Linked DNA regions of Homo sapiens: region 1 is linked to region 2. The links are contacts of gene promoters, found by promoter capture Hi-C in human tissues and cell types (Jung and others, 2019). All regions are on one chromosome and are shown on one strand. Each heading gives the region's core, a stretch centred on a gene start or on the middle of the fragment in contact. The rest is flanking DNA. Distances are from core to core; before and after follow the strand shown. Region 1 overlaps DNAAF9 (dynein axonemal assembly factor 9). Region 2 holds the start of GNRH2 (gonadotropin releasing hormone 2).

Region 1 (5,987 bases), core at 1,446-3,945, 210 kb after region 2:
TACTAGCAATTTGGGAGGCTGAGGTAGATGGATCACTTGAGCCCAGGAGTTTGAGACCAGCCTGGGCAACATGGCGAGACCTAGTCTCTAAGCTGGGCGCGGTGGCTCATGTCTGTAATCCCAGCACTTCAGGAGGCTGAGGTGGGAGGATCACCTGAGGTCAGGCGTTTGAGACCAGCCTGACCAACATGGAGAAACTCCGTTTCTACTAAAAATACAAAATTAGCCGGGCACGGCGGCAGGCGCCTGTAATCCCAGCTACTCGGGAGGCTGAGGCAGGAGAATCACTTGAACCTGGGAGACGGAGGTTGCAGTGAGCTGAGATTGCGCCATTGCACTCCAGCCTGGGCAGCAAGAGTGAAACTCCATCTCCAAAAAAAAATTAAAACAAGACAAAACCAAAAAACTATAACCCAGAGTCACATTAGCAATCACTCAATAAAGGAGCAATTTAACTTTAACAGCTTTAGAGACTGAAATGAAAAGTTCGCCCCTGAGGTTTGCCCCTGTGCATTCCTGACCCATCAGTGGACATGCAGAGTGCTCCTGGGGCTCAAATGCATGGCTCTGGCAGACAACCGCTTTGCAGACAGGGTCACACACTCCCAGCCTCACTGCCCGGGTTCCACACAGGGACCACGCTGTTCCAAGGATACGTGGGTGAAAATCAGTTTTGTCACCAAAGAAGTTAACAAATTGGGTGCCATTATAAAAGTAGCCTGCAGGTAGGGGTTCCAAGTGGCGTTTTACCTGTAGGAGAAAAGAGACCTGTAATAATTATCTGACTACTTTCTATACTTCACTCACTCATTAAAACAAACAAGTCTATTTCCCTAGCAAGATAGACTACTCTGCTATACAGAGGAGCTAGGAAGCTAACACCCCCGGCAAACCTCAAGCCCTGCCTGAGGTGGTTCCCCACCTCTCAGGTGAGGAGCTCTGGGAGGTCCTAGTGGGATGAAGTTCCCACGGTGTGCAGTGGTACTGATGTGCAAACACACTCTTTTATTTATTTATTTATTTTTTTGAGATAGAGTCTTGCTTTGTCACCCAGGTTGGAGTGCAGTGGCGTGATCTTGGCTCACTGCAACCTCCATCTCCTGGGTTCATGCAATTCTCCTGCCTCAGCCTCCCGAGTAGCTGGGATTACAGGCATGCGCCACCACGCCTGGCTAATTTTTGTATTTTTAGTACAGACAGGGTTTCACCATATTGATCAGGCTGGTCTTGAACTCCTGACCTCAAGTGATCCACCCACCTCAGCCTCCCAAAGTGCTGGGATTACAGGCGTGAGCCACCATGCCCGGCCACAAACACACTCTTTATTGGCTGTTTCCCCCTCTCCTCTTTCATCCTCCTGTTTCCTATTTAGTGTCTCCTAGAATCACTTCCAAAATAAACTACCTGTACTTAACTCCTTGTTCACGGTTGGCTTTCAGGGGAACATGCATTATAAGGACTACCTTATGCCCATGTTGTCCTCCCCAGGAGCACCCAGGTTGTCCGGGCCTATAGGAGCTGTTTATGAAAGGGGCCTCCTCAAATCCAAAGCAGGGGCTCCTGGAGTCCCAGAATACTTTCCTGCCCCACCTGCTCATTACTGGCATCCTGGGGACCTAGACTCTGTGTCCTTTTTAGCTTTTTGTCCCCAAACCCCTCAGGAAAAGGCCCCAGTGAGCATGGCGACTGAAGCAGAGGCTGGGGGTCAGAGCCTGGAGGCTGGGAGGCTCATCAAGGGGGTCTCTCAATCAGCCTCTTATCCTGGCCTCAGGTTCCACAGCCTTCCTATGAGCAGCCTCTGGATCCAGACAGTTTTTGCCTGGGCTCTAGCTGGTTCATCTGTAACATAGGTCTTCTGCAGTTGCTTGAACAAGGTGCCAAGGCAGGGCTTCTGGTCATCAGCTTCTCCCACAAGTACTGGCTCTACTCAATCTGATGCCCAGGTCACACCAGAGGTCTCCTGTGCCCTCCTCACTGAGGCTGCAAAGGCCAGAATTCTGTACGCAGCTTCCCTCTGTGGCCTGGGAGAAGCAAGACCTCCAGCATGTCCTACAAACAGCTCCTCACTCAGAGAATCCAAAATACAGAGCTAGGCAAGCCGAGGACAGCCCTGGGCCACCGAGGGGAGAAGCCAGGGCAAGGCACTCACGTGGATGCTCCTGATCTCCTGTTGCGTCAGCATCCCCCTGGTCTTCAGGGCTTTCCTCTGAGGCTTCTGCAGAGATGGGGAGTGGAGGGTCAGGTCCCAGCAGAACTCATGGAGTGCATGGGCAGGGGAGGGCTCTGGGCTCTATTACACAACTAAGATCTCAGCAGTGGGGAAAGCACGTGCGCTATGGCCTGGATATAATATTCTGTCTAGTCTGCTCTTTGAGAAAACCACTTTCCCATCACAGAGCCCTGTGAGCCAGCAGGGAACAAGCAGCAGAGGACAGCCCAGTGTTTTCGTAAATGGGAATGGTCGTGCCTCTTTGTAGATTCTTATCCCTCAACCCTACCAATGAGAGGCAGACAAAGGGGCAGTCTGAGGCCCCACAGTCAAGAACCGTTTAGAAGCTTATCCAAGTGAGGCAGCCCATCCCTCAGCATAAAGACAGGTCCCTAGTGAGCATCTGCAGAAGAGCCAGGCCCCAGCTAACTCTAGTCCCAGAGTTCTAGGATGAACTAAACCCCCAAGGCTGTGCTACAAGGCTTAGCACCCAAACCTTGCAGAGAACCTGGCTCACAAAGCAAACAACATAGCAGGCCTGCCTGGAGTTTGCTCTCAGTGGCTTCCTCCCTCTCTCAAAGTGTCCCTGCAAGTGCTGGCTGGGCCAGGGAGAGGAAGCCCAGTGGGGAGGCATCAGGGAGGCAGTGGCGGGGCTTCTCAGGGCCAACAGCAGCTCTGAGGTGTCTGGTCACATCTGTGTCAGGTCTGTCTGGGCTCTGGAAACCACCTGCTTAGCTGACTGCCGCAGCCAGTCCTTGATGCTGTCTTCCTTCAGGGAGCAGCCGATGAACACAAGGTAGCACTCCTGCTGCCCGCTGCTGTCTTGAGATACGCTTTTGGAGTCTGGTGGTGGTGTGGGTCCTTCCAAAACTGGCATGATGCTCAAGGAGTTGGCCAGTGTGTTGTAGCAGACCTCCATGGTCCTCTCAGAGTCTGTAAGGAGAATACACATTAGTCCCTGAGAGCCTGCCTTGAAAGGATACAGCTATGCTAAGACTGTGACAATGCAGATGGTTGGGATAGATTCATGAGAAAATGCAAGAGACAGAACTGATGTGACTGGTGGCAGCTTAGAAAGGATGGAGTAGGTGGGCACAGTGGCTCATGCTTGTGGTCCCAGCTACTCAGGAGGCTGAGGCAGGAGGAGCACTTGAGCCCAGGAATTCAAGGCTGCAGTGAGCTGAGATTGCGCCACTGTACTCCAGCCTGGGTGACAGAGGGAGATCCCATTTTGTTTTGTTTTTTAAAAAGGAAAAGAAAGGATGGAGTAAGAGAGAGAGACAGAGAGGAACAAAATAAGTTTCTGGCTTGGCTGATCTGGGTGATCAGGTGGACACTATTATCCCAGAAGGGAAACACAAGAGAAAAAAAAGGTTTATAGGTGGGAGAAGAGGAAGAGTTTGACTCTGCACTTGTGGCATTTGAAAGTCTCTAAGACCCTGAGCGTGAGACATCCACATAGTCCCTGGTGGTTGCTGGAATAGCTGTTATGGAAGAGGTGGTTGAGGAAAAGCAAAGAAACCCCCTTGGTAGAAGTGGGGGGCTCTCAGCAGAGGCCTCAGAGGCCAAGGGAGGAGGGCACAGCCAACAGTACAACAAAAAAATTAGCTGGGTGTGATGGTATGTTCCTGTAGTCCCAGTTACTTGGGAGGCTGGGGTGGGCAGTGACCTAGGATTGCACTACTGCACTCCAGCCTGGGCAACAGAGCAAGACCCTGTCTCAAAAACAAAACAAAACAGACAAAAAAACCAGTACAGCAGTGTTGCACGAAGGTCACACAGATGAGAATGGGAAAAAGTGTTACATGCTAAGGAGATGAGGGCTAGGAGTGACTGGAGACCCAAGAAGTGGGCAAGGGCTCCCTGAAAGGCAGGATGAGAAAGGATCCGGAAAAAAGCGAGGTTAAATTTGAACAAAAAAAGAGTCAATAGCAGATCTAAATAAACAAGAGGCTGGGTGTGGTGGCTAATACCTTAATTCCAGCACTTTGGGAGGCCGAGGCAGGAGGATCACTTGAGCCCGGGAATTCGAGACCAGCCTGGGCAACATAGGGAGACCTTGTCTCCACAAAAAAGAAAAAAAATCAGCCAGGCATGGTGGTTCACGCCTATAGTCCCAGCTACTTGGGAGGCTGAGGTAGGATGATCGCTTGAGCCTGGGAGGTCAAGGATGCAGTGAGCCGAGATCAAACCACTATACTCTGGATTAGGTGACAAAGTGAGACATTGTCTCAAAAAATAAAAAGAAGAAAGAAATAAAAATATTTATTTATTTATTTTATTGAGACGGAGTTTCACTCTGTCGCCCAGGCTGGAGTGCAGTGGCACAATCTCGGCTCACTGCAACGGCCGCCTCCTGGGTTCAAGTGATTCTCCTACCTCAGCCTCCCAAGTAGCTGGGATTAAAGGCATGTGCCACCATGCCCGGCTAATTTTTTTTTTTGAGACAGAGTTTTGCTCTTGTTGCCCAAGCTGGAGTGCAGTGGTACAATCTTGGCTCACTACAACCTCCATCTCCCAGGTTCAAGTGATTCTCCTGTCTCACCCTCCCAAGTAGCTGGGATTACAGCTAGGTGGTGTCCTACAGTAGGTGGGTGTCCGCCACCACACCCAGCTAATTTTGTATTTTTAGTAGAGACAGGGTTTCACCATGTTGGTCAGACTGGTCTCAAACTGCTGGCCTCAAATGATCTGCCTGCCTTGGCCTCCCAAAGTGCTGGGATTACAGGTGTGAGCCACCGAGCCTGGCCTAATTTTTTTTATTTTTTGTAGAGATGGGGTTTCACCATATTGGCCAGGCTGGTCTCGAACTCCTGACCTCAAGTGATCCTCTTGCCTCGGCCTCCCAAAGTGCTGGGATTACAGGCGTGAGCCACTGCACCCAGCCAAAAAAGAAATAAAAAAAAAGAAGAAAAGGAGGTGATGGGTGAGAGGGAAAAACAAAAGTACCAAGACCTCTGAAGCAGCAGGGGCTGGCTGTTGGAGCCTGAGATTAGTGGGCTTGGGTGTGGGGCCGAAGTTTCTGATTTGATCACATAAATCAAGCAAAAGCTATGAGCTAAGGACCCATGTAATTCTCCCATCTGAACCATGATGGTTCTATGCTTGGAGCCCTCAGTGGTCCCCTACAGCAGAAACTGATAGCTGCCGACCCCCCATATTGTCTCCCTCTTCTTCCAATACCAATACCCCATGGGTGATGGGTCCAGAAAGGCACAGCAATCCAATGAGATAAGTCGGCAGAGAAATTGGGGGAGGCGCTGCACTGACAAAGGCACCCACAGGAAGAGCCAGCCTCTCCTCATTGGCTGGATGCAGTGTCTGGCTTTGACACCCAGACCTGTAGCACCACTTGGCAACCATAAGGGGCAGGAACCTGAAAGACAAGCTGACACACCAAGAAGGGGAGGACACGAAGACATACATCACCTGGCTCCTCAGTGGCCTTGCTCTGCTGCTTGAGCGCCTCACTTGTTATACAGCCAACACCTGCTAGCTGAGTGGGGGTTCTCTGTGATAACAGCTGAAGACACCCTAACAGACGCACTCCCTCTCTCCCTACTCCCAGGCTCCAGTTACGGTAAATGCTTTTTGGTTCCTGAAATGTGTCTTTTCTGCCTCTGGATTATAGCAAATGCTATTTCCTTCCCCTGGAATACTGTACCTTTCCTCAACATTGAGTTGACTGACTCCTACTGGTTTTGAGGCCTTCTCTGATGCCCACTCCAGGACAGCAAGGGCTCCAGAGGTCTAAACTGATCCTCAGGCCTACTAGTCA
Region 2 (6,676 bases), core at 475-2,974:
TAACCTTCCCACATACTCTGGCCCCATGGATCCACGGCAGTTCCTGCTGGCCCTTCTCCATTTTGTTCCTTATGCTGCACCCCTCTGCTGCCACTCCCTGCGTCCGTGACTCCAGCTCACTCGTCTCTGTCCTTCACCCAGGCCGCCTGCTCAGGGTTTGTGCCTCTCTGTGCTCCTGCAGCACCTGAGTGTTTATTCACCTCTGAACCTCTGCTTTCCCACCTGAGTACACGCAGCTCCTGGCTGCAGTGACTTCATATCCTGAGGACTGGAGCTCCGTGGTGAACAGATGGCTTTCTATGTTCTAATGAGAGGGATACAAGAGTTCCACAGTTCTAGTCTGGAAAGGACCAAACATTTCTTAAAAGCTAAGTATGTTGCCGGAAAAAAAAGGGAGCAGAGCTTTCCCCAGGAAGCTTGGCTCTGGTTTAGATTTTTCAGGAAAAGCCGGAATCAAATTACAGAATAAATAAAGGCAACCATCCCCCTTTTAAAGGTACACCAGCCTTGGTGCATCTTTGAAGAAAGCATTCTGTAAACCCCAACCAGAACTAAACTAGTACGTCGAACTCAGATTCATTTTCACTAAACCACAAGCAAATGTTTCCCTAAAAATCACCCAGTTAACAAAGTCCGCATATTTAAGCCAAAACAATTTAACTGAACAAATGGGCCACACGTTGATTTCCGGTCCCTGCTAATAAGTCAGTCTGGAAGTTCACAGGTGTGCCCATCCTGCCTTGGCTGCTGAAGTCCAGGTGTCTAGGGCTGACTGATGCCCATTATGCCTCCCCTCCCCCATCTTTGTCACAGGATTTGACGCACCAGCTCTCCAAATGACCCTGGCCCTCCCATTTGCTGTTCAGCCCAAGTGCGGAGATTGGCTATGAACCCTGTAAACAGGCCTCTGACCCCCAGAGGCTGATGGCTGGCCAAGGAAAGCTGAGCTGCTGACGCAGACTGGGAAGCAAGAGCCCACTTCCAGCAGCCCAGGCTAGCTGTGTCCAAATCCATGACTGGGGAGGGGTTAGAGCCTTGAGGGACAAAATTATTCTACCTACCTAGGGAGACTGCACTGGCCCAACAGCTGGGCCCCATCTCATGGGCCCGCTTCTTCGCCAGGAGAGAAGCCACTCCGGGGTAGGTACTGCCCCACCCAAACCCAGCCATCTGGAGTGACCCAGCCCTGGTTCCCAGGTGTGTGGATGTGAATTGTCCCACCCAACCCACTCTACAGTGAGCAAACGGAAGCCCTCTGGGAGAGTGGTCACAGCCTCCCCTGTACCTCTGAACAGCCTGCCAGGCTCCCTACTCTTAGGCTTCCACTGTCCACCAGGGAAAGCCCTGAGCTGGGAGTTGGGGAGCCCCCAGGCATTGCCCCTGCCCAGGACACAATTCTCTTTTGGGATCAGGGAAGGCTGTGAGGGCTTTCTAGGTCTCAAGATCAGGAGCTTGAAGATGCAGCCTGGGAAGTGGGAAGGTGAGACCAGGACATAGGCCAGCCTAAAGCAAGAGTCCTGGGCCTGAAGGCTCCTGGGAAGGTGGTGGGGAGGGAGCATGTGTCGGTGGCCTCAGGGCAGCAGCTGCCTGGTGAATGTTCATGGACTGGATGCTCTGGGAAGCGGGTTGGGTGGTGAGCTTCTCTCTTCCCCTCTGAAGACGTCACTGGAGTCTGGGGGTGGAGCTGCCTGGTCTATAAATCCTGGGGCCATCAGGCTAGGGTCCTGCAGCTGCCTGAAGGAGCCATCTCATCCACAGCTCTTCCTTGGTGAGTGGGGAGCCTTCCCTAAGGGCTAGGACACCTGGACCAAGTTTCATCCTGGGCGTATGGTGTGCTGCTCCTCTTCCCCATTCCCAGGTGCCTCCACCCCTGAACCATGCCAGAGAAGTCCCCTTTTCCTCTCCTCTCCCCAACAGCTCTACCATCTATTCTTGTGCTTGTTGCCCCTGGCATGGGAGGGATAAGGGGTAGAAGCACTTGCCCCCATCAATACCACTCATCCATTCCACATCCCCAACTACTATGGAAGAGATACAGCAGGCCACGGAGAAAAGGGCAGAAGGCCTGCAACTCTGGTTCCCTAGCACTGGTGCTCCAAACACGCCTACATTGAGAACTCCCCTGACCATCCATCTATCCTCCCATCCATTGGCCTGAATTCAGGTCTCTGTTCCCCTCCAACTTTCTTCCACTTCTGGAAACTCCTTGAAGGAAAGATGGATGGACCTGGACAAGTGGGAGGGCCCTCAGAGCTGGCAAGGCAGGTAGCCTCTGTGCCCCAGGCTCAGGGAGAAGGCTCGTCCCCTGGAGCATCATCCCCTGCTGGGCCAGGATCCCCCAGGATCTGGACCCCTGTATGCTTGGGATGAGGAGCGGTGGCAGAGAGGGAAGGGCATAAGGAGATACCAAAGCTGCCCCTGAGATGCCAGTTTTCCAAAGTGGCCCTGGAGGAAGTAGGGGGATGTGGGGGTGAGGTAAGTCTCCTTGAATGCTGTACCCTGTCCATTAGAGCAGCCATGGCCAGCTCCAGGCGAGGCCTCCTGCTCCTGCTGCTGCTGACTGCCCACCTTGGACCCTCAGAGGCTCAGCACTGGTCCCATGGCTGGTACCCTGGAGGAAAGCGAGCCCTCAGCTCAGCCCAGGATCCCCAGAATGCCCTTAGGCCCCCAGGTGGGTGTCTCCCAGCCTCATGGGGAGGAAGAAAGTGATGGCCGGGGGCTCCCCCACCCTCCTGGAGCCTGAGGTCGGGGTAGGGAGGACAGCATCAGTTCCCTTCTAAGGAAGGGCCCTGGACACTGCAGCAGGCAGCCCAGTCCAGACTGCCCATGGCCTCCCAAGTGATGCCCTGGCTCCCCTGGACGACAGCATGCCCTGGGAGGGCAGGACCACGGCCCAGTGGTCCCTTCACAGGAAGCGACACCTGGCACGGACACTGCTGGTGAGTAGGGTGAGAGGTCCCCAGCATCAAGACCAGCCACTGGTCATCAGAGGCCATTGTGGCTTAGGGTTGGGTGCTGGGAGGGTGGGGAGAATGAAACACCACTGAGATGCCCCCTGCCACAGCACCCCCAGCCATTTCTCAGTGCCCCTACTGCACACAGCAGGGTGCTGTCTGCTATCCTTCCTATTTCCCAGGAGGATTCTAGACAATTTACAAAGCACTTGGGTTAAAGACCAAAGTCACTAGTAGACTAGAAGGAGATAATTGTTCTATAAGACAGTGGTGGCCATGGGATCCCACAGGCATCCTGACAAGCCAATGACTGTCTTGAGGTGGACAGACCCCAGGCCAGTGGAAAGAGGTGAGGGATGCAACCTCACTCAAACAGACAACAGGGCCAAGAGGACCAGGTGGTGACTGACATGTGCACTAGGAACATCTCAGGGACTGCAGAGCTCCCCAAGACCATAGCAGAAGACAGGCGTGGGGAAATGGTTTGCTACTGTTTTGCAAATCAAACATTTACAGTGCATCAGGAGAGCCCGGTAACTAAAGAAGAAAGTGGTTAGTTCCTATGAGGCAATGTCTTACCGCCTGATTTGTGTGTATGTGCTGAGGTTTCTATGCGTCAGGCTTGTTTAGGGTGGACAAGAGGGCATGCCCAAGGGAGCTGGAGATCCCCACACTAGCTGGATCCTCAGGCTTCTACGGGAGGCGGGGGGCGTCCTGCTGTGGGAGGCCACATGGGGACTGGGGGGGACGAGAGGGGAGAGAACCAGGAAGATGGCAGCTCGGCGGTTACGAGACCAGTGTCCTGAGACATGACCGCCACCTCTCCCTCCGCAGACCGCAGCCCGAGAGCCCCGCCCCGCCCCGCCATCCTCCAATAAAGTGTGAGGTTCTCCGAAGCTGTTGCGTCGAGTTCTGTCCTTCGTCCCCTCCCTGTCTTCCCCGCTGAGACCCTTCCCTGCGTGGGGGCTGGAGGGACGCGGGTCCGGCCCCGCGGGCGGGAGTAACTAAGGGATGGCCCCGGGCCCTGGCGGGAAGGCCGGGCCAGAGCCTGGGGGCGGGATGCGGACGTCCGCAGGGTCGCCGCTTCGGTTCCAGAGGCCACACGGCCGGGCGGGGCGTGAGGGACAGCCCGAGGACTACAGGTCCCAAGGTTCCCCGCGCCGCTTCCGGGGCACGGTGGCGTCCCGGCACCGCGGCCGCAGTGAGGAGACTCGGCCATGCTACGCGCGCTGAGCCGCCTGGGCGCGGGGACCCCGTGCAGGCCCCGGGCCCCTCTGGTGCTGCCAGCGCGCGGCCGCAAGACCCGCCACGACCCGCTGGCCAAATCCAAGATCGAGCGAGTGAACATGCCGCCCGCGGTGGACCCTGCGGAGTTCTTCGTGCTGATGGAGCGTTACCAGCACTACCGCCAGACCGTGCGCGCCCTCAGGTGTGCGGCCGGGGGGAGGTGGCCGCCCGCGCGCGCTGGTGACGGTGGGAGTGGGCGGAGAGGGTGCTGATTCCTGGCGCGTCTGCACCCAGGATGGAGTTCGTGTCCGAGGTGCAGAGGAAGGTGCACGAGGCCCGAGCCGGGGTTCTGGCGGAGCGCAAGGCCCTGAAGGACGCCGCCGAGCACCGCGAGCTGATGGCCTGGAACCAGGCGGAGAACCGGCGGCTGCACGAGCTGCGGTGCGTGGGGCGGGAGGCGGGGCGGGGCGGCGCGGCCTGGCCGGCCTGGGAGAAGCCCGGGCCCCGCTCAGCCTCGGCCCTTTGACCCTCACAGGATAGCGAGGCTGCGGCAGGAGGAGCGGGAGCAGGAGCAGCGGCAGGCGTTGGAGCAGGCCCGCAAGGCCGAAGAGGTGCAGGCCTGGGCGCAGCGCAAGGAGCGGGAAGTGCTGCAGCTGCAGGTGGGCAACGTCTCCGGAGGGTGGGACTCCAGCCGGGGACGCGGCTTGCGGGGCACTGGGAATTCTGGGCACCGCGACGCGGGCGCTGGCTATGTGCAGAGACTTACAGTTGGCAGGTCCGGATTTGGAGAGGAGAGTGCCAGTCAGGCGCAAAGACCCGGAGGTGAGCGGAGTAATTGGACAGTGTTCAGGTACCTAGCAGGTCTGTGGGAGGGACCCTGCGTTCCACAAAGAGGTTGTATTTTGCATAACAGGTGATGAAGCCATGAAGGGTTAAGTATTTCAGGCTAGGATTAGCAGGTGTGCGACTTAAAAGCAGGGAGACCACTTAGGAGTAATGCAGTGAGAATGGATGAGGCTTGATTTAAAGTATAGAAGGGTGGCTGGGAGCGGTGGTTCACGCCTGTAATCCCAGTACTATGGGAGGCCGAAGCGGGCGTATCACTTGAGGTCGGGAGTTCGAGTCCAGCCTGGCCAAGCCCCGTCTCTCCTAAAAATACAAAAATTAGCCGGGCGTGGTGTGCGCCAGTAATCGCAGCTACTCGGGAGGCTGAGGCATGAGAATCGCTTGAACCCAGGAGGCAGAGGTTGCAGTGAGCCGAGATGGCGCCACTGCACTCCATCCTGGGCGACAGTGAGACTCCGTCTCAAAATAAATAAATAAATAAATAAATAAAGTAATGGGGGGAAGGATGAGTTAGAGTGATTCAGAGGGGACCACTGAGGGACGGATTTCACCTACCAGGACGTGAGATTTTCATAGCTGGCACTCGGGGCTATGGCTGAAGTGTCTGAGAAAAGAGGAACGTGGAAAAGCAACCTGATATCACTCCACTGGGAGGCCAGAGGGGCTCTCAAATAGGACCTGGGTTCCAGGCATGCTTCCCCAGGGAGAGCAGGAGCTGCTTTCTCAGTGGGGTGAGAGGCCAGCAGGCTGGGTGGGCTGGCTGGCATGTGCCCAAGGCTCCTGTTCAGCTGGGCTTTTCTCTCCCGATAGGAAGAGGTGAAAAACTTCATCACCCGAGAGAACCTGGAGGCACGGGTGGAAGCAGCATTGGACTCCCGGAAGAACTACAACTGGGCCATCACCAGAGAGGGGCTGGTGGTCAGGCCACAACGCAGGGACTCCTAGGGGCCCAGTAAGGACAGTGCCCGCCAGGGACCATGTATGTATCATGGCGGAAGAGTTGGCCCTGACCTGGAATAAAGCAGTTGGTGTTGCTTATGAGGAAGGTTCAGCCTTATCCAGCACAGCCTTCACGTTTTGCCCTCTGCTGTCACCACTTGGTCAGAAACTTCCAAACGCAGTGCCCTGTTCTGCCGGTGTGTACAGCCTCAGCGCACCAGGAGACCCTAGAGTGGTTTCCATCTCACAGAGAATCAGACAGGGCCACAGCCCCCTCAGGCAGCCAGGTCATCTGAGTATCATTAAGAGTAGTGATGGGAAGATTACAGTCTGAGGGCCAAACGTGCCTGCTTCCTGTTTTTGTAAATAAAGTTTTGTTGGAACACAGCCACACCCACTCATTGACTTCTTTTTACTACAGTGGCAAAGGTGAGTAGTTGCAACAGAGACCATATGAATCCCAAAGACTAAAATCTTTAACTTTTTACAGGAAAAGTGTAGTGATCTCTCATCTGGAGCTTTAGGACTCTAGCCTGTGTCACCCAGGACCTGAGCCACAAGCTAACCATTGGCCAGGCGCCTGCCTCTGCTCTATACTGTGCTTTGCTGGCCAGAGTCTGGTGTATCCAAGACCCAGAAGGCAAAGAGGAGACCCCATTTTTTTCTGGGTTCCACAAAGAGGTTGTATTTTGCCTTACAGGTAATGAAGC

What was found. The method cuts DNA at HindIII sites, captures the fragments that hold promoters and counts their contacts. A contact is called where the count stands out against the background at its distance.
Region 1: a fragment that was not itself captured here is called in contact with the fragment with the promoter of GNRH2 in region 2 in 1 of the 25 tissues and cell types used here (lymphoblastoid cells).

What each region holds. Positions count from the first base shown.
Region 1 is chr20:3,253,070-3,259,056 of GRCh38, forward strand. It overlaps DNAAF9 (dynein axonemal assembly factor 9), which reads right to left. Exons shown (of 37, transcript NM_001009984.3): 34 at 2,937-3,142; 35 at 2,150-2,215; 36 at 657-750. Among named protein-coding and RNA genes, the nearest start is that of SLC4A11, 17 kb to the left of the region's middle. The HindIII fragment of the contact is 6,428 bases long and covers 1-5,909 here.
Region 2 is chr20:3,041,898-3,048,573 of GRCh38, forward strand. GNRH2 (gonadotropin releasing hormone 2) reads left to right here and starts at 1,725. Exons shown (of 4, transcript NM_178331.2): 1 at 1,725-1,768; 2 at 2,511-2,671; 3 at 2,803-2,939; 4 at 3,789-3,850. The coding sequence starts at 2,518. The coding sequence ends at 3,839. It overlaps MRPS26 (mitochondrial ribosomal protein S26), which reads left to right and starts at 4,155. Exons shown (of 4, transcript NM_030811.4): 1 at 4,155-4,383; 2 at 4,476-4,622; 3 at 4,717-4,840; 4 at 5,838-6,353. The coding sequence starts at 4,172. The coding sequence ends at 5,972. RefSeq lists enhancers at 3,637-3,696, 5,037-5,096 and a silencer at 3,797-4,666. The HindIII fragment of the contact is 17,170 bases long and covers 1-6,676 here.